2 separate regions of the Homo sapiens genome follow, and region 2 is linked to region 1. The links are contacts of gene promoters, found by promoter capture Hi-C in human tissues and cell types (Jung and others, 2019). All regions are on one chromosome and are shown on one strand. Each heading gives the region's core, a stretch centred on a gene start or on the middle of the fragment in contact. The rest is flanking DNA. Distances are from core to core; before and after follow the strand shown.

The links. The method cuts DNA at HindIII sites, captures the fragments that hold promoters and counts their contacts. A contact is called where the count stands out against the background at its distance.
Region 2: a fragment that was not itself captured here is called in contact with the fragment with the promoter of PPP2R5C in region 1 in 1 of the 25 tissues and cell types used here (dorsolateral prefrontal cortex).

What each region holds. Positions count from the first base shown.
Region 1 is chr14:101,757,422-101,764,520 of GRCh38, forward strand. PPP2R5C (protein phosphatase 2 regulatory subunit B'gamma) reads left to right here and starts at 4,288. Exons shown (of 16, transcript NM_001352913.2): 1 at 4,288-4,499; 2 at 5,484-5,549. The coding sequence starts at 4,473. LOC107984658 (a long non-coding RNA gene) reads left to right here and starts at 6,658. Exons shown (of 2, transcript XR_001750901.1): 1 at 6,658-6,865. RefSeq lists silencers at 3,134-3,243, 3,314-3,463, 3,524-3,573, 4,034-4,193, 4,204-4,443 and 2 more. The HindIII fragment of the contact is 18,209 bases long and covers 1-7,099 here.
Region 2 is chr14:100,383,386-100,389,779 of GRCh38, forward strand. The region is part of intron 2 of WDR25 (WD repeat domain 25); the gene reads left to right. Among named protein-coding and RNA genes, the nearest start is that of WDR25, 10 kb to the left of the region's middle. RefSeq lists an enhancer at 1-115. The HindIII fragment of the contact is 4,605 bases long and covers 2,363-6,394 here.

The DNA.
Region 1 (7,099 bases), core at 3,038-5,537:
TCAGCTGAATATCCAAGTATGCAAGACTGCCTGGATGCCCAGAAGGCCTAGGAATGACATGAAGAAACCTAAGCCCACAAGCCGGGGTCTGTGAGAGCCAAGAGAGAAGGCTTTCTGGGCAGGGTGACCAAAGCTGCAGCCTGGCAGGCAGGGCAGCTCTACACCAGCCTCAGAGGAGCAGGCAGGGCCTACTGTGCTGCAGGCATCTTCACAGAGAAGACGCAGGAAGGGCTTCTGAGGGCAGACGCAGGGAAGGGTGCGGGGCTGATTCTCAGTCAAGGGCCATCTTCTCTCTGCCCTGCTCATATGTGCCACTGATGGTATCCAGAGTGAAGCAGTGAACAGTGTAGGGCTGCGGCTGGTGGCTGCAGTGAGGTCAAAGACCTCAGTCCTCTGGGAACCTCTCTGATCCTCCAGAGACCTCAGGGGCACAAATAAAGCAATCCAACATACAGAGAAGACAGACATGGAAAAAGTATGTTTGGGTTTTTAGAGACTGTATTAGTCCATTCTTGCATCACTATATACAAATACCTGAGATTGGGTAATTTATAAAGAAAAGAGGTTTAATTGGCTCATGGTTCTGCAGGCTGTACAGGAAGCCTGGTGTTAGCATCTGCTCAGCTTCTGGTGAAGCCTCAGGGAGTTTTCGTTCATGGTGGAAGGCGAAGGGGGAGCAGGCACTTCACATGGTGAAAGCAGGCTCAAGGTGGGGGGAGGTGCCACATACTTTTAAATAACTAAATTTCATGTGAACTCCAAGCGAGAGCTCACTTATCACCAAGGGGATGGCCCAAGCCATTCATGAGGCATCTTCCTCCGTGATTCAAACACTTCCCAGCAGGCCCACCTCCCATCGGTGATTACATTTCAACATGGATTTGGGTGGGGATAAATATCCTAACTATATCAGGGACCATCTCAAAAAAGTGTCCCAGAGGAGCAGGGGTTGGAAGAAAAGGAGTTTTGTGTGATGCGAGCAGTGCCTTCATGAACATGGAATGTGGGGCCATCCTGGAAGAGGTAACCCTCAGCCACACACACACACACACACCCACATAATGGCTTTATATCCTATCTCAATAGCTTGTCCTGAATCCCTTCTTTTGGGAGCAGGAGCTATATCTATCTTTAGCGTTCCTGTAAATACCACAGCACCTAAGACACTGCATGAAACCCAGTGTGTTCTACGGGTAGTCGGTAACTAACTGTCCTTAAAGATGGTCCTCCCTAATGTGGGCAAATGAAGCCAGTCCAATGGCCAGTGACGTACACATGCAGTTGTACAGGTAATGGTGTTGAGTCAGATTTCTCTGGTTGCTATGGTTTCAAGGTCACTGGATGTTAATCAGGCAGCTTTGCTTGTACCCTGTCCCTATGCTTTCCCTAAAACTCTAAACTGACCTGAGAAACCTCTAACCTGACATGCAACTAGTCCTCTATGCTATATTTCCAGTTGCCATCTTGGACACCTCTACCTACATTTTGCGGACACAGCAACGTGTCCCAAACTGGAATCTTGTTCCCTTGCAAACCTGCCCTCCACTTGCATCCCTTCCTCATCATTCACTGTGTTGCCCAAACTACAAGCATGAGCATTCGCTTTTTATCCTCGATTCTGGCTCTCTGTCGCGTCGGCGATCCTTCCCCCCGTTGCTGTGGAGATGCCTCCCTGGCACGCACCTGAACCATAGCTGGATGCTGATTGCTCTTTCTGCCTCCTGCTTTTACTTCCACCCTCACCTCCTCCACACTCCTGCCACCGATGTCTTCTAAAATGCAAATGTGAGTACATCACTCCCCACTTCAGTATCTGTCAGTGACCCTGAAATGCATTCAAAAAGAAGTACAATATCTTGGCAAGGTCTACCAGTCTTAATTCAGCGTCGCTGTTCCTTCAGTCTCATCTCCGGCCATAACAAAACGTCCTGTGCAGTGCTCTGTCATGCTTCCAAGCCTGACCCCCCTCACCCCAGTCCTGTAGACTTGTCACATGTCATGTCCTTCTGATTGCTGGTTTTTTCTATTTCCATGCAAGCATGTGAACTGCTTGAGGACAAGGGTAGTGCCTTGTTCACCATGAAATTTCTGGCATCATGCTTTGCACATAGTAGTTATCCAACAAATGTGGGTCGAATGAATGAATTGTATGCAACACCGGATCAGGAGATATGATACAAGGATTTGGGTGGCAAAGGATTGTCTCAGAGATGCCTCTAAGCCTCCCTAAGAGTTCATGGCCATAAACCAATAGTTTCAGAGCTACTCCTTTTTGATATGGATATATCCTGGACTTATTAAATTGACAGCACATATTTTATTTTTAAAATGTTATTAAGTTAACTAGGGGCATCGCTCTATCCTCAAAATTGTTTTGGAGACACCATTAACCCACTTAAATTATTAATAAAAAAGCCACTTATTCCGCACAAATAGTTGAGACTGTCCTGCTTACCTACAGATATTCGTCTAAGAGCCGGCAGACATTCAGATACCCGCAGACAGAACTTACTTTCTGGACCTCCCACAACATTCCTCCCTTTAGATCTTTTTTTTCTTACCCCGTCTTTCAGCTTTCTCATTGCAGAACTGCTGAGAATAATGGAAAATGCTTTGCCTGGAAACTTCCAAGAACAAAACTCCGGGGGCTAAGAGAACGCGATGATTTTTAAGCTGCCAGTTAAGATGCAGCTCCTTCATCATCACAGGTGAAGCACCAATGCCTCTCGCACGTGAAATCCGTACGCTCCTAGAGTCTTACTACCTAATGCATTTCTGCAATCTGGGACGCCTGTCCTTAGCGTCTTCAATAGTTTTGGGCACGAGGTGGACCGCGGAAGTATTGTATTGAAAAGTTAACGTTTTTCCCTTGGACACCCTCTCCTCACAGCTATTAACAAGCTGAGAGAAATCAGGTGACTCCCAGTCATGCAGAGGTTTCCTCACCATTTATGATCAAGCCAAATTAAAGAATAAAAATAAAATCCTATTGGCGCAGCGGCCACCAAGTCTTTGAGGCCTCGCCTCGGTGGGCGGGGCCGACGCCGGAGGAGAGGGGCTGCGCATGTGGGCGTGACCTCGCGGAAGGAGCTGCGGAGGGCGGGGCCGACTGGAGAGGGGCGGGGCTGTCGGGTGGGTGGGACCTCGCGGCAAAAGCTGCGGAGGGCGGGACCAACCAGGAAAGGACGGGACTGTCGGGTAGGCGGGACCTTGCGGGAGAAACTGCGGAGGGCGGGACCAACCAGGGAGGGGCGGGCTGTCGGATGGGCGGGACCTCGCGGGAGGAGCTGCGGAAAGCTGAGCTGGTGAGGGGAGGGGCTGGTCGAGGGGAGGGGCTGGTCGAGGGGAGGGGCTGGCCGAGGGAAGGGGCCGGCCGAGGGGAGGGGCCGGTCGAGGGGAGGGGCCGGTCAAGGGGAGGGCCCGGCCAAGGGGAGGGGCCGGTCGAGGGGAGGGGCCGGTCGAGGAGAGGGGTTGGTCGAGGGGAAGGGCTGGCCGAGGGGAGGGGCTGGCCGAGGGAAGAGGAGGGGAGGGGACGGGCTGGTCGAGGGGAGGGGAGGGGAGGGCAGGGGACGGGCTGGTCGAGAGAAGGGGAGGGCAGGGGACGGGGTGGTCGAGGGGAGGGGACGGAGGGGAGGGGAGTGGAGGGAGAGGAGGGAAGGGGAGGGGAGGGAAGGGAGGGGAGGCGGGGCCCAGCGGTGTCCCGCGAAACTGCCGCTCGCTCGGTTCCCGGGCCTCCCCGTGCGCCTCAGTGCAAAGCGTGCCAGGCACTCTTGACTGCAACGAGAGCCGCGGCGGTGAGGGGGCAAGGCCAAGAGGCCACGGTTCGCGTTTCGCCGGCTGCAGAAGTTGTTGCCATACATTTCAAATGTGCATTTCCTACGTCTCACGCTCTGTCTTGCGCCTCCACAGCGGGCCACGGCCCTGTCACCGCAGTCGCAGCCACATGCTCCCTCCCCTGAGTCGGCTCAGCTCTGCTCAGCGGTCAGCCCCGCGCCAGGAGGCCGCGGCCTGCCTGAGGCCGGCTCGCAGCGACTCGGGACGGAGGGCGGGGGCGTGAACGGGTCGCGCGGAGAGGGTGGGGGGAGCGGGGAGCGTTAGGGTACGTGGGGGCGCGTCGACCAATGGCAGGGCGCTGTTGAGTGCAGCGGGGCGGGGCCGGGCGCGGGGGTGGGGCGAGCGGCGGGCGGGGCGGGGCGGCCGGCCGGGGGGTGGGAGGAGAGGGGCGGGGCGGGCCGGCCGGGGGAGGGGCGGAGAGACGCCGCCGCTGCCGCCGCCGCCGCCGCCGCCGCCGCCGTGGCTGCCGCAGCCTCTGGGAGTCTGGAAAAGGGGAAGCGAGAGCAAGCGAAAGACTCAGTCCCCGGGCGGCGGCGGCGGCGGCGGCCGCGGGGGCGCGACGGCCGGGGCGGGGGCGCTGCTGCTGCGGGGGCAGGCGGCGGCAGGGGCGGCGGCGGCGGCGGCGGCCCGCTCCAGCCATGCCGAATAAAAACAAGAAGGAGAAAGTGAGTCCGGGCCCGGCCGCGGGACGGAGGGAGCAGGGAGGGACTGCCGGGGGAGGGCGCGACGGCACCGGGGTCCTGCGCCCGGGCCCCGGCTCAGTTCCCCGCCTGACGCCGCGGGCTTCGCGTCCCCGAGGGCGGCCGAGCCAGGCATCCCCGGGCTTCTCTCGGCCTCATGCCCGGTGGGGGCGGGGAGCCCGGGGATCGCGCCGGAGCCGCGGGGCGCAGGCCCGGGCCGCTGGGACCTTCGTGATGGGCCGGGGCTGGGCGTGGAGGGAGGGCGCGGCCCGGGGAGGGGGTCGGAGGGGCGCCCGTTTCCGACAGCGCGCCGTGGGCTTGGGCGGGCAGGTGCGGCCGCCGAGGGGGTTCGCAGCCTCGCAGGCTCCCGGAAAGGAGCTTCAGGGATGGGGGCTGTAGACGCCTGGGGAGGGACCCCTGTACGGGGGAAAGGGAGCGAGAAGGGACCCCGCTGAGAGCTGGTAAGGAATTCTCTGCCGCCCCGGAGGGACGCTCTGGGGCTCTCGAACACTATTATTATCCTGGGTGGCGGCGGCGGTGAGGGCTGCGAGCAAGGGTGCTGCGTTTGCATTCGGGGGGGCGGGTATGTTTCTGCTTCAGGTGGAGCTCTGTAGCGTTTCATTATCACCCCAGAAATCCTCACTCATAGGGTTTAGGGTGGGAGGGTAGAAAGGGATGTGATGTGGATCTCAAAATGCCAGAAGCACTGTATAAAATTGGATTTATCTGTTTTCTGCTTGAAGTTTTCAACCTCAAATGCAGATAAAACGAAAAGAATCTGAATGGGGGTTGGGGGGCATTGCACTGTTGGAATCCTAAACGGTATGATATAGAATTTCCTAATGGTATGAATTAAAAATATCAGAAGCTGTAGTTGTATAAATCACTTTTAAAACTGCATTTGGCTTATCTGATGTTTACCTGTCTAAAAAGTGAGAAGACTAATTGACTTTGCTTGATGTTTACCAGGAATCACCAAAAGCAGGGAAGAGTGGAAAAAGTTCAAAAGAAGGACAAGACACAGTAGAATCAGAGGTAACTGTCATCAAATATTGACTTTGTATTTTATACACAGCTTTTAACTTCAGGTAGAAAAACCGAGAGTGATAAAGCCTAGAATCTTCTAAAATGTTTCCCTATGTGAGGTTTTTTTTTTGTGGTGTCTTTTATAACCCTCAATTTTAGTTGTTTAGGTATTTACTGTTTTGCTTTGGAAAACTATTAATGATTTTATGAAAATTGTGCTTGCCTATGGGGTTTGTTTGTGGGTCTTTTGGGGTTTTTTTTGTTTTTTATTTTTTTGAGACGGGGTCTCACTTTGTCACGCAGGCTGGAGTGCAGTGGCGCAATCTCTGCTCACTGCTACCCCTTGCCGCCCAGGCTCAAGTGATCCTCTTACCTCAGCCTCCCAAGTAGCTGGGACCACAGGAACATGCCACCACACCCAACAAATTTTTTTTTTTTTTTAATAGAGTCTCACTCTGTCACCCAGGCTGGAGTGCAGTGGCGCGATCTTGGCTCACTGCAACCTCTGCCTCCCGAGTTCAAGCAATTCTCCTGCCTCAGCCTCCTGAGTAGCTGGGATTACAGGCACCCGCTACCACGCCCGGCTAATTTTTGTATTTTTATTAGAGACGGGGTTTCACCAGGTTGGTCAGGCCGGTCTTGAACTCCTGTCCTCGTGACCCGCCCACCTTGGCCTCCTAAGGTGCTGGGATTACAGGCCTGAGCCACCGTGCCCATCCTGGATCTGGTATTTTTAAGTTCATTTCCCACACCTCAAACCCAGCAACCCTCCTGTATAGATTGGTCTTATGCAGTCTATGGTGTTGCTATGTTGCTTTTAGCTTTAGGGTCATCTCCCCACCGCCACTTCCATTGCAAGCTGCCAGGCAACTCAGTGGTTAGTTCTTTTTCTTCCATCACCTTGTTTTCCTTCAAACCACCTCTGCTACTGACGTCCTGGGCTAGCTCCCTATTTCTGTTGACGGTCCCTTGGCCTCTTTCTCCAATAATGTTGGTATTTGAAAAAATTTACCTAGTTTTGGTATTTTATTATTGTTCACATTGTGTGTGTGTGTGTGTGTGTGTGTGGGCGCGCGCACTTGCGCGTCGGCCACTTGTAAATTTCTTTGCTTCTTGGCTTTGGCCTCATTGAGGAACAGCTGGAATGCCAAGTGAGCATTGCATCTACTTGACCAAGGTTGATGCTGTTCCTTCACACCGTGAAGTGCCTTCAGAGGATTTGCAGAGTCACCACTTTCCTTTGCCTTTTCTTCCTTGTGACTAATTGTTGAACTAGAGCACCTAGGGCCAAGGGTCCAGGAGCTGCGTGGACCCAGGCAGAGCCAGTAGGTCCTTTTGAATCCATGGGTAGCACATAATTGGGTTAATAGAGTGTCAGTTATCCAGAACTGGATCATTGAAGCCCCAGTCTTATCACAAATGACGTTTATTTGCCAGTGTCAGACTTCTTCCTGTAAGCCAAATTAGAATGAGTTCAGTTCTGTCTGGGAAACACAGTTAACTGGCGATGATCTGCAGTGGACTTTTTTTTAGCCCTGCATTCTCTCTTTTCTATCATT
Region 2 (6,394 bases), core at 3,415-5,914, 1.4 Mb before region 1:
CGCTGCAAGGGCTGGAGGATGGGAAGCCCATCTGGAGGGTTGCTGGTGGGCCTGGGCAGTGTCTGACTGGCCCTGGAGTTCAAGTGGTGGCCCTTGTCCTCCCTGTGCTCACCTTCCTGTTGAGGCCTTCTTTTACCTGCCCGCTCACCTCTGGAGTTCTCTCTCCTGATGGTGAGGGGCAGACCTGGGGCCCTGTGGGACTGGCCTTCGCCTGGTGGCGTGAAGTGCTCCCTGGGCCCTGCTGGCAGAGTGGCAGCTTGGGTCACTTTTGCCTGGGAAATTTAGATTTCCTAAACAGAAGCATCCCCATGGTAGTTTTTGAGCAGAGAGCACCTGAGTAGAGGCATTGATTTCTGGCCTTGTGGAGTAGACAAATGTGCCAGGCACGGTGCCACTGGGGACGTGGGGGGAGAGACGTTTCTGCCCCCATGGAGGGGAAACTGTGAGCAGCCAACTAACTGTGACACCTCATGACCAGAAGAGGGCGCAGTGGGCCCAGCTTGGAATGGCAGTGAGGGTGGCTCAGACTGAGGGACTGTGGTAGGAATGCCCTGCTCCTGGGCGATTCAGAGACCTGGGTCCGGGTCTGTGGGGCTGCCCTGGGTGGGGCCAGGCGCCGCAGCTGTGCCCGCCTGTCCCGAGGAGACTGTGTGTGCTGCAGGTGATGACACTGGCATGGGCCCCTTGGGCTGCCAGGCAGCTTCTGGGGAGCCCCACCCACTGCACTGTGCACCCTGGGTTCCTTCCCAGGGCAGAGCACATTTGCTGTCATGAGGTTGGGCCAGGGTCAGCATGGCTGCTAGGGTTGGCATCTCCTGACCCTCTTTTTTTACTGTGGTGTCGTGAACATTAGGGCTTTTATAAGCCATAGATACAAATGGTGGGCCAGGGCCCTCTCTGTTTTAAGATATTTGTCAGTTTTCAGTGATGGGGTTATTTGGCAAATTGGTTTTGGGCAAATTGACTTTGAACAACTTTTCAGTGTGAAGAGTGTATGGCAGGGGCTGGAGGAGCCAGGATGGGAAGACAGATTGGGAACCGGCGGGGAGCCAGGCAGGAGCTGTGGCCAGAAGTCCCGGCTGAGGCCTCAGGCTTGCTGGGCCACCAGGTTTGTGCGTGGCCTGGCTGGGAGGCACATGGTGTTCTTTTCCCTCCTTGGTGTCAGAGGTGGGGCAGCATGGCAGATCTTGGGGACCTGGTGATCTGGGGAAGGCAGTGTGTGGGTGTGGGTGGTGGGTCTGGAGTGGGGATAGGGCCTCGGGCACAGGCAGGAGTCCTGGCTGGCTGCAGCCCAGTCCCTGGAGGAGAGGAAATGGTGGGTGCAGCATGGAATGAGCTCAAAGAGGCGGGTGCAGCAGTACACCCTTCCCAGGGTGCTTTCCCCCTGCCTTTTGGTTAAAATCTGCCAGTGTCTTCTGGGCCCCTGCTGGATCAGGAAGGAGGGAAGAGCTTGGGGGCTGGGTGACAAGACCTGCTTGGGTCCTTCCTCTACGGCCAGCCCCTTGGTTGCGTGGTCTCTGGCAAGTTACCTCACTTCTGAGCCTTCATTTGAGTATCTATAAAGTGGAGAGAATTAAACATGCCTCGCTGGGTTTTTGTGAAAAGTAAACGATATTAGTTGTGAATCACCAAGTGCAATGCCTGGCACATAGCAGGCACTTAGTGTGTGCTCGAGTTCCTGCTTTTCCCCAAGAATTTCCTCCTTTCCTTGACTTGTGCTCATGTCTTATTTTACGTAAGTAGCCATGGAAGCATATCAGCTTCACCTACTAGACTTTAAGCTTCCTGAGCCAGAACCCATTTTTATATTCCCCAGCATCTGGCACAAAATTGTGTACATGTTAAGTGATCGATAAAAATTAAAACAAATTTTTTGGATTTTATCGCAAGCCTTTGGGAAGGGATTGTCTTTTGAGTGGATAAATCATATTCGCCACTAGGGTGCACAGTAAGACTTAATATAAGCAGCTCATCCAAGCTTCTAGAATGTGGAAGAATCCTTGATTCAAGGTAACATTTACTGAAAAATGATTTCTTTCTGATCAGGAGAAAAACAACACAGTCCAACTTATTAATCTAAAGAACATGGAGTGCCAGTTCCTTCATATCCTTAAAACGTAGCTTCGGAATTCATACATTTCAACTGGACACATTACAGTGGAAAGATACTTATTTTAATATGTTCTAAATGTTCTGTGAGCTGTAAAATATGCTTTTATTAGTTTTGAAAAATTTACAGCTAGAGAAATTAAGTAAAATAAAACAATGACTCATAATTCTGCACCGCTGCTCTTTCCTGACGATCCCTTCCTCCCCTTGTCTGTGAACGTGCTTGTTTTTTTCATAGCTGTGATCCCAGCACGGATACCCTTTTATATACTCTTTTCATCTCCCAGTGAACTCTTTTGGCTTAACGTGTTTGAACACCCACTGCACGTAAAGGTAGAAATTCAGACTTTGATGCCTTTTTTTGAAGGAAAACATGTACGTGGCCTGCGTTAACCAAAAACACAACCAGCCGTTATTGAATGCTCCCATGTACAGAACCCTCTGCCAGGCACTGAGAGGGAGTCCCAAAGGAATAAGACCTTTGGGTGGGTGACAGAAGACCCACCAGGGACCTTCTGTACCTGTATGAAAACCTGCAGTTCTGAAACACAGAAGGTTTTTAAAGAAAATATATGAATTAGATGTTGTTTATTTGCTTTACAGAATAATTTGCTCTAGAAATTCTTTCAGTAACAAGCTTCCTTAAAATACTTTGAAAAAAAACCTTTTAATTTTTGACCATGAATGTAATAGATGCTTATTGTGAAAAACTTTAATGATGCAGGAAATATGAAGTATGAAGGAGAAACAGAAATCATTGATAACTCCCAACCCCAAGTCAGTGCCTCATTAACATGAGGGGCCTCCCTGGTCGGGGGCCCTACATTCCTATCTGTTTACATAATTGGGCTTATTGCATAGTATGTGCAGTTTTGAATTCTTCCTCTGCTGCCCAATCTTCTGTAACGTGTAAGGGGAATTTTTCTACCTTATTAAAAACTTTTCCCCAAATATATTTTTATAACTGTCTCAAGTTTCATACTTTGCTCCATCATTTCCATGTTGTTTCCTATAATTTCCTGCTTTTGTTTAAAAAATAATCAGTATTACAGTGAATATGGCTATACATAAATATTGTCTTTTTTTGCTGCCTTAATGCAGTTAAGATGGGCTTTGAGGCCAGGCGCGGTGGCTCATGCCTGTAATCCCAGCACTTTGGGAGGCCGAGGCAGGCGGATCACGAGGTCAGGAGATTGAGACCATCTTGGCTAACATGGTGAAACCCCGTCTCTACTAAAAATACAAAAAATTAGCCGGGCGCGGTGGTGGGCGGCTGTAGTCCCAGCTGCTCGGGAGGCTGAGGCAGGAGAATGGCATGAACCCAGGAGGCGGAGCTTGCAGTGAGCCCAGATCGCACCACTGCACTCCAGCCTGGGTGAAAGAGCGAGACTCCATCTCAGAAAAAAAAAGAAAAAGATGGGCTTTGATTTACACCCAGGCATTAGCTAAAGCCCTTGTGTGTGGTGAGAGTGGGACCTGATTAGATTGGCAAACCTTCAGTACCACTGTTGTACTCCTTGGCTCCCATGCCAAATCTTCTGCTTGGTAGCTGTGTGACTTTGGGAAAATCACTTAGCCTCTCTGATCCCCTAGTTCCTCACTGGTAAAATGGGGATAATTGGTAAATGGCCACCAATTAAGGTTGTTGCTGTAGAGCTGAAATGAGAAGATCCAGCCTAGTGCCTGACAAGGGAGAGGCTGAGGAAGCATGTTTCTGATTCCCCTGTACCTGTCTTGATTAGTTATAAAACAAAGTGTAGAAAAGACAAATCACCCAGAATCCTCCAACTTACTGTAACTCTTGTTTTTTGTGAATCTTTTCATTGTCTCTATGCACACGTTTTTAAAGCGTTTCAATCTCAGTGTTCTTGAGATAAATACTTTTAGAATCTAAAGAGTTTGAGGATTGTCTGTGCCAAGCCATTCATGCACTCCCTTTTCATGTACTGAACACTTGGCAGGTCTGTGTTGGAGAGCTGGTTCCCTGTCCCCAAAGTGGTCACATTTAAAGCATGGATGAGAGGATGGAGAGCGCTAGCCATTGCTGAGTGCTTACCATGTACTAGGCATGTTCTAAACGCTCCGTCTCCTCTTCATTACAGGCCTGAGAGGCCACTTCTGTCCTCATTCCCATTTTACAGATGAGGAAATTGAGGCACAGAGAGGTCAAGAGACTTGTCCGTGGTCACACAGCTAGTAAATGATAGAGGCAAGCAGGGAAGCTTCAGACTCAGAGCCTGAGCAGAAAGAGCTACCACCACTCACGCTGCCCTCCTGCCTCTGAGAATAAGGGATGGAAAAGCGCATCCCCTTCACCCAGGTGGTGTCCAAGCTCTATCCCAGCTTCCAAATTTTGTGGTTCTGTTAAGGGACATACAGAGAAGAGATGATTTCTGGGGTGGTTTGGATTTGCATTTTTATGTATCACAGGATCCTGTTGATTTATCATTGTTAGTGAATCTGATTACATTAAGATATCTTAGATGTGCTTTGTAGAAAGTGATCTATTTCACATTCAAAGACAAGGGATTTATGGCTCTAAGTGCCAGAGTGAGGGTTTATTTCAGTTTTGAAAGAATTATTCTTGATGGATTTTACAAAATGAGATTGAGAAATGATTTGATGTGTGGAGTGAGGAGTTGTGGAGCATTATGCAGATGATTGGCAATTTATTCTAAGCACGAGGCAAATCTATTGGCAATGAGAGGCGCAGCTGGGAAGGAGGTTTGGGTGGTGGTAGTGGGCCTTTGGTATTTGGGGAGTGAATGATTAACAGTGCATCCAGGGTAATTAGATGAAGGTGAGGAGAGAATTGGTGATGTGTGTGTGCGCATGTGCGTGCATGCATAGCGTTCATCTGGTTCATTTGATAGAGGCCCATAGAGGGGAAGACACGCCCGAGGACACACAATAGGTGTTTGGATGCTTCCTAGTCTGGACACTATATTTGCTTCTCTTCTTTCCCACCTTCCAGAGGACTTTCAGAATCATCTGAATTACCCCAGGATTGGGAGTGTGGGGCTTTAGACTGGTTGGCAGCAGAGCTGCCGAGCCTCTGGGAAGAGCCATGAGATTCTGAGCTGGAATCTTCTCTTCGTGGGAAGTGAAGTTTTTTTGACACTCCTCCTCCCCCATGTGAAAGCCGCGACATTTCTGAGGCCAACAAATGAGACATTTCCCAGTTCCAGTTGCCTTACAATCTTGTATCTTACAGAAAAAACCTTGGGTTGAAGAGGAATAAGAAAAGGAAAGTGTAGCAGAACCCAAGCTGTGTTTTCTGCTTTTTAATAACTTCATTCCATTTAACTTAAACAGTTCAGTGTACCAAGGGCGGGGCCTTGTGCTCGCCAGAAGCTGACAGGAAGAAAACAGCCGTGTGAAGGTGCAGCCTCTGTCCTCGAGAAGCAAGCCTCATTCACTCTCATCCCATGTCATTAAGGGAAGGATAGAGCAATTTGGAAAAATGCTTTTAATGTAATTGAAAAATGCAGATTGCAAAATTGGCGCACTTAGGAGTCGAGACAGTCTAGTAAATTATTTCTTGTTGCTTTTAAAACTCGGAGACAGTAGACTCTTAAAGGTGCTTGTCTAATGCCCAGTGATGGCCTGTGTCCAAATGAGTTGTTTTAGATTTAATTTGTTTTATCATAAAAGTGGTAAAATTTTGGGAAAAAATGCAAGAAAATGGCAGAAATTAAAAGATAAACCATAGACCCTTCATTCAAGCCTAATGACCATGAACATTTTGCAAGCAGCGTTTCCTTCTAGTCTTTTTTCCCTACATATATCAACTAGTTTTAATCATATGGTAGGTACTTTGTTTTTGTAGCCTGCATTTAAAATCATAGGGTGGTCATTTCTCCCCCAGATTGTTAGTATTATTTCCTCTTAAGAGAAGGGTTAGGTAAGTCATTCCAACCTTTTAAGGTTTCCTTCTAGCTTCTGCTGTTTCTTGTCAGGTGTTTTCTTTTGTCTATTCTCCCAGATGAACACAGCTCTCATGCGGACCCCTCATATACTGGGGGGAGTGGAGCAAGCCGGGGGACAGAAGCCCTGAGGGGCAGTCAGAAGGTACATGTGAGTGAGACCAACTGTGTCAGCCCAGGATAGCTGGAAGCCTGCCTTCACCTGGCCTCCCCTCTGGCAGGCTTCCTGAAGTTTCCTGAACTTGGCAGAGGACAGCGTACCTTGATCTTCTACGTGGAATACTGTGATACTGGCTGAAATGCAGGGAGGACCAGAAGGGCTTTAGAAACCTACAACCAAAGCGGCCCTAGAACTCTGC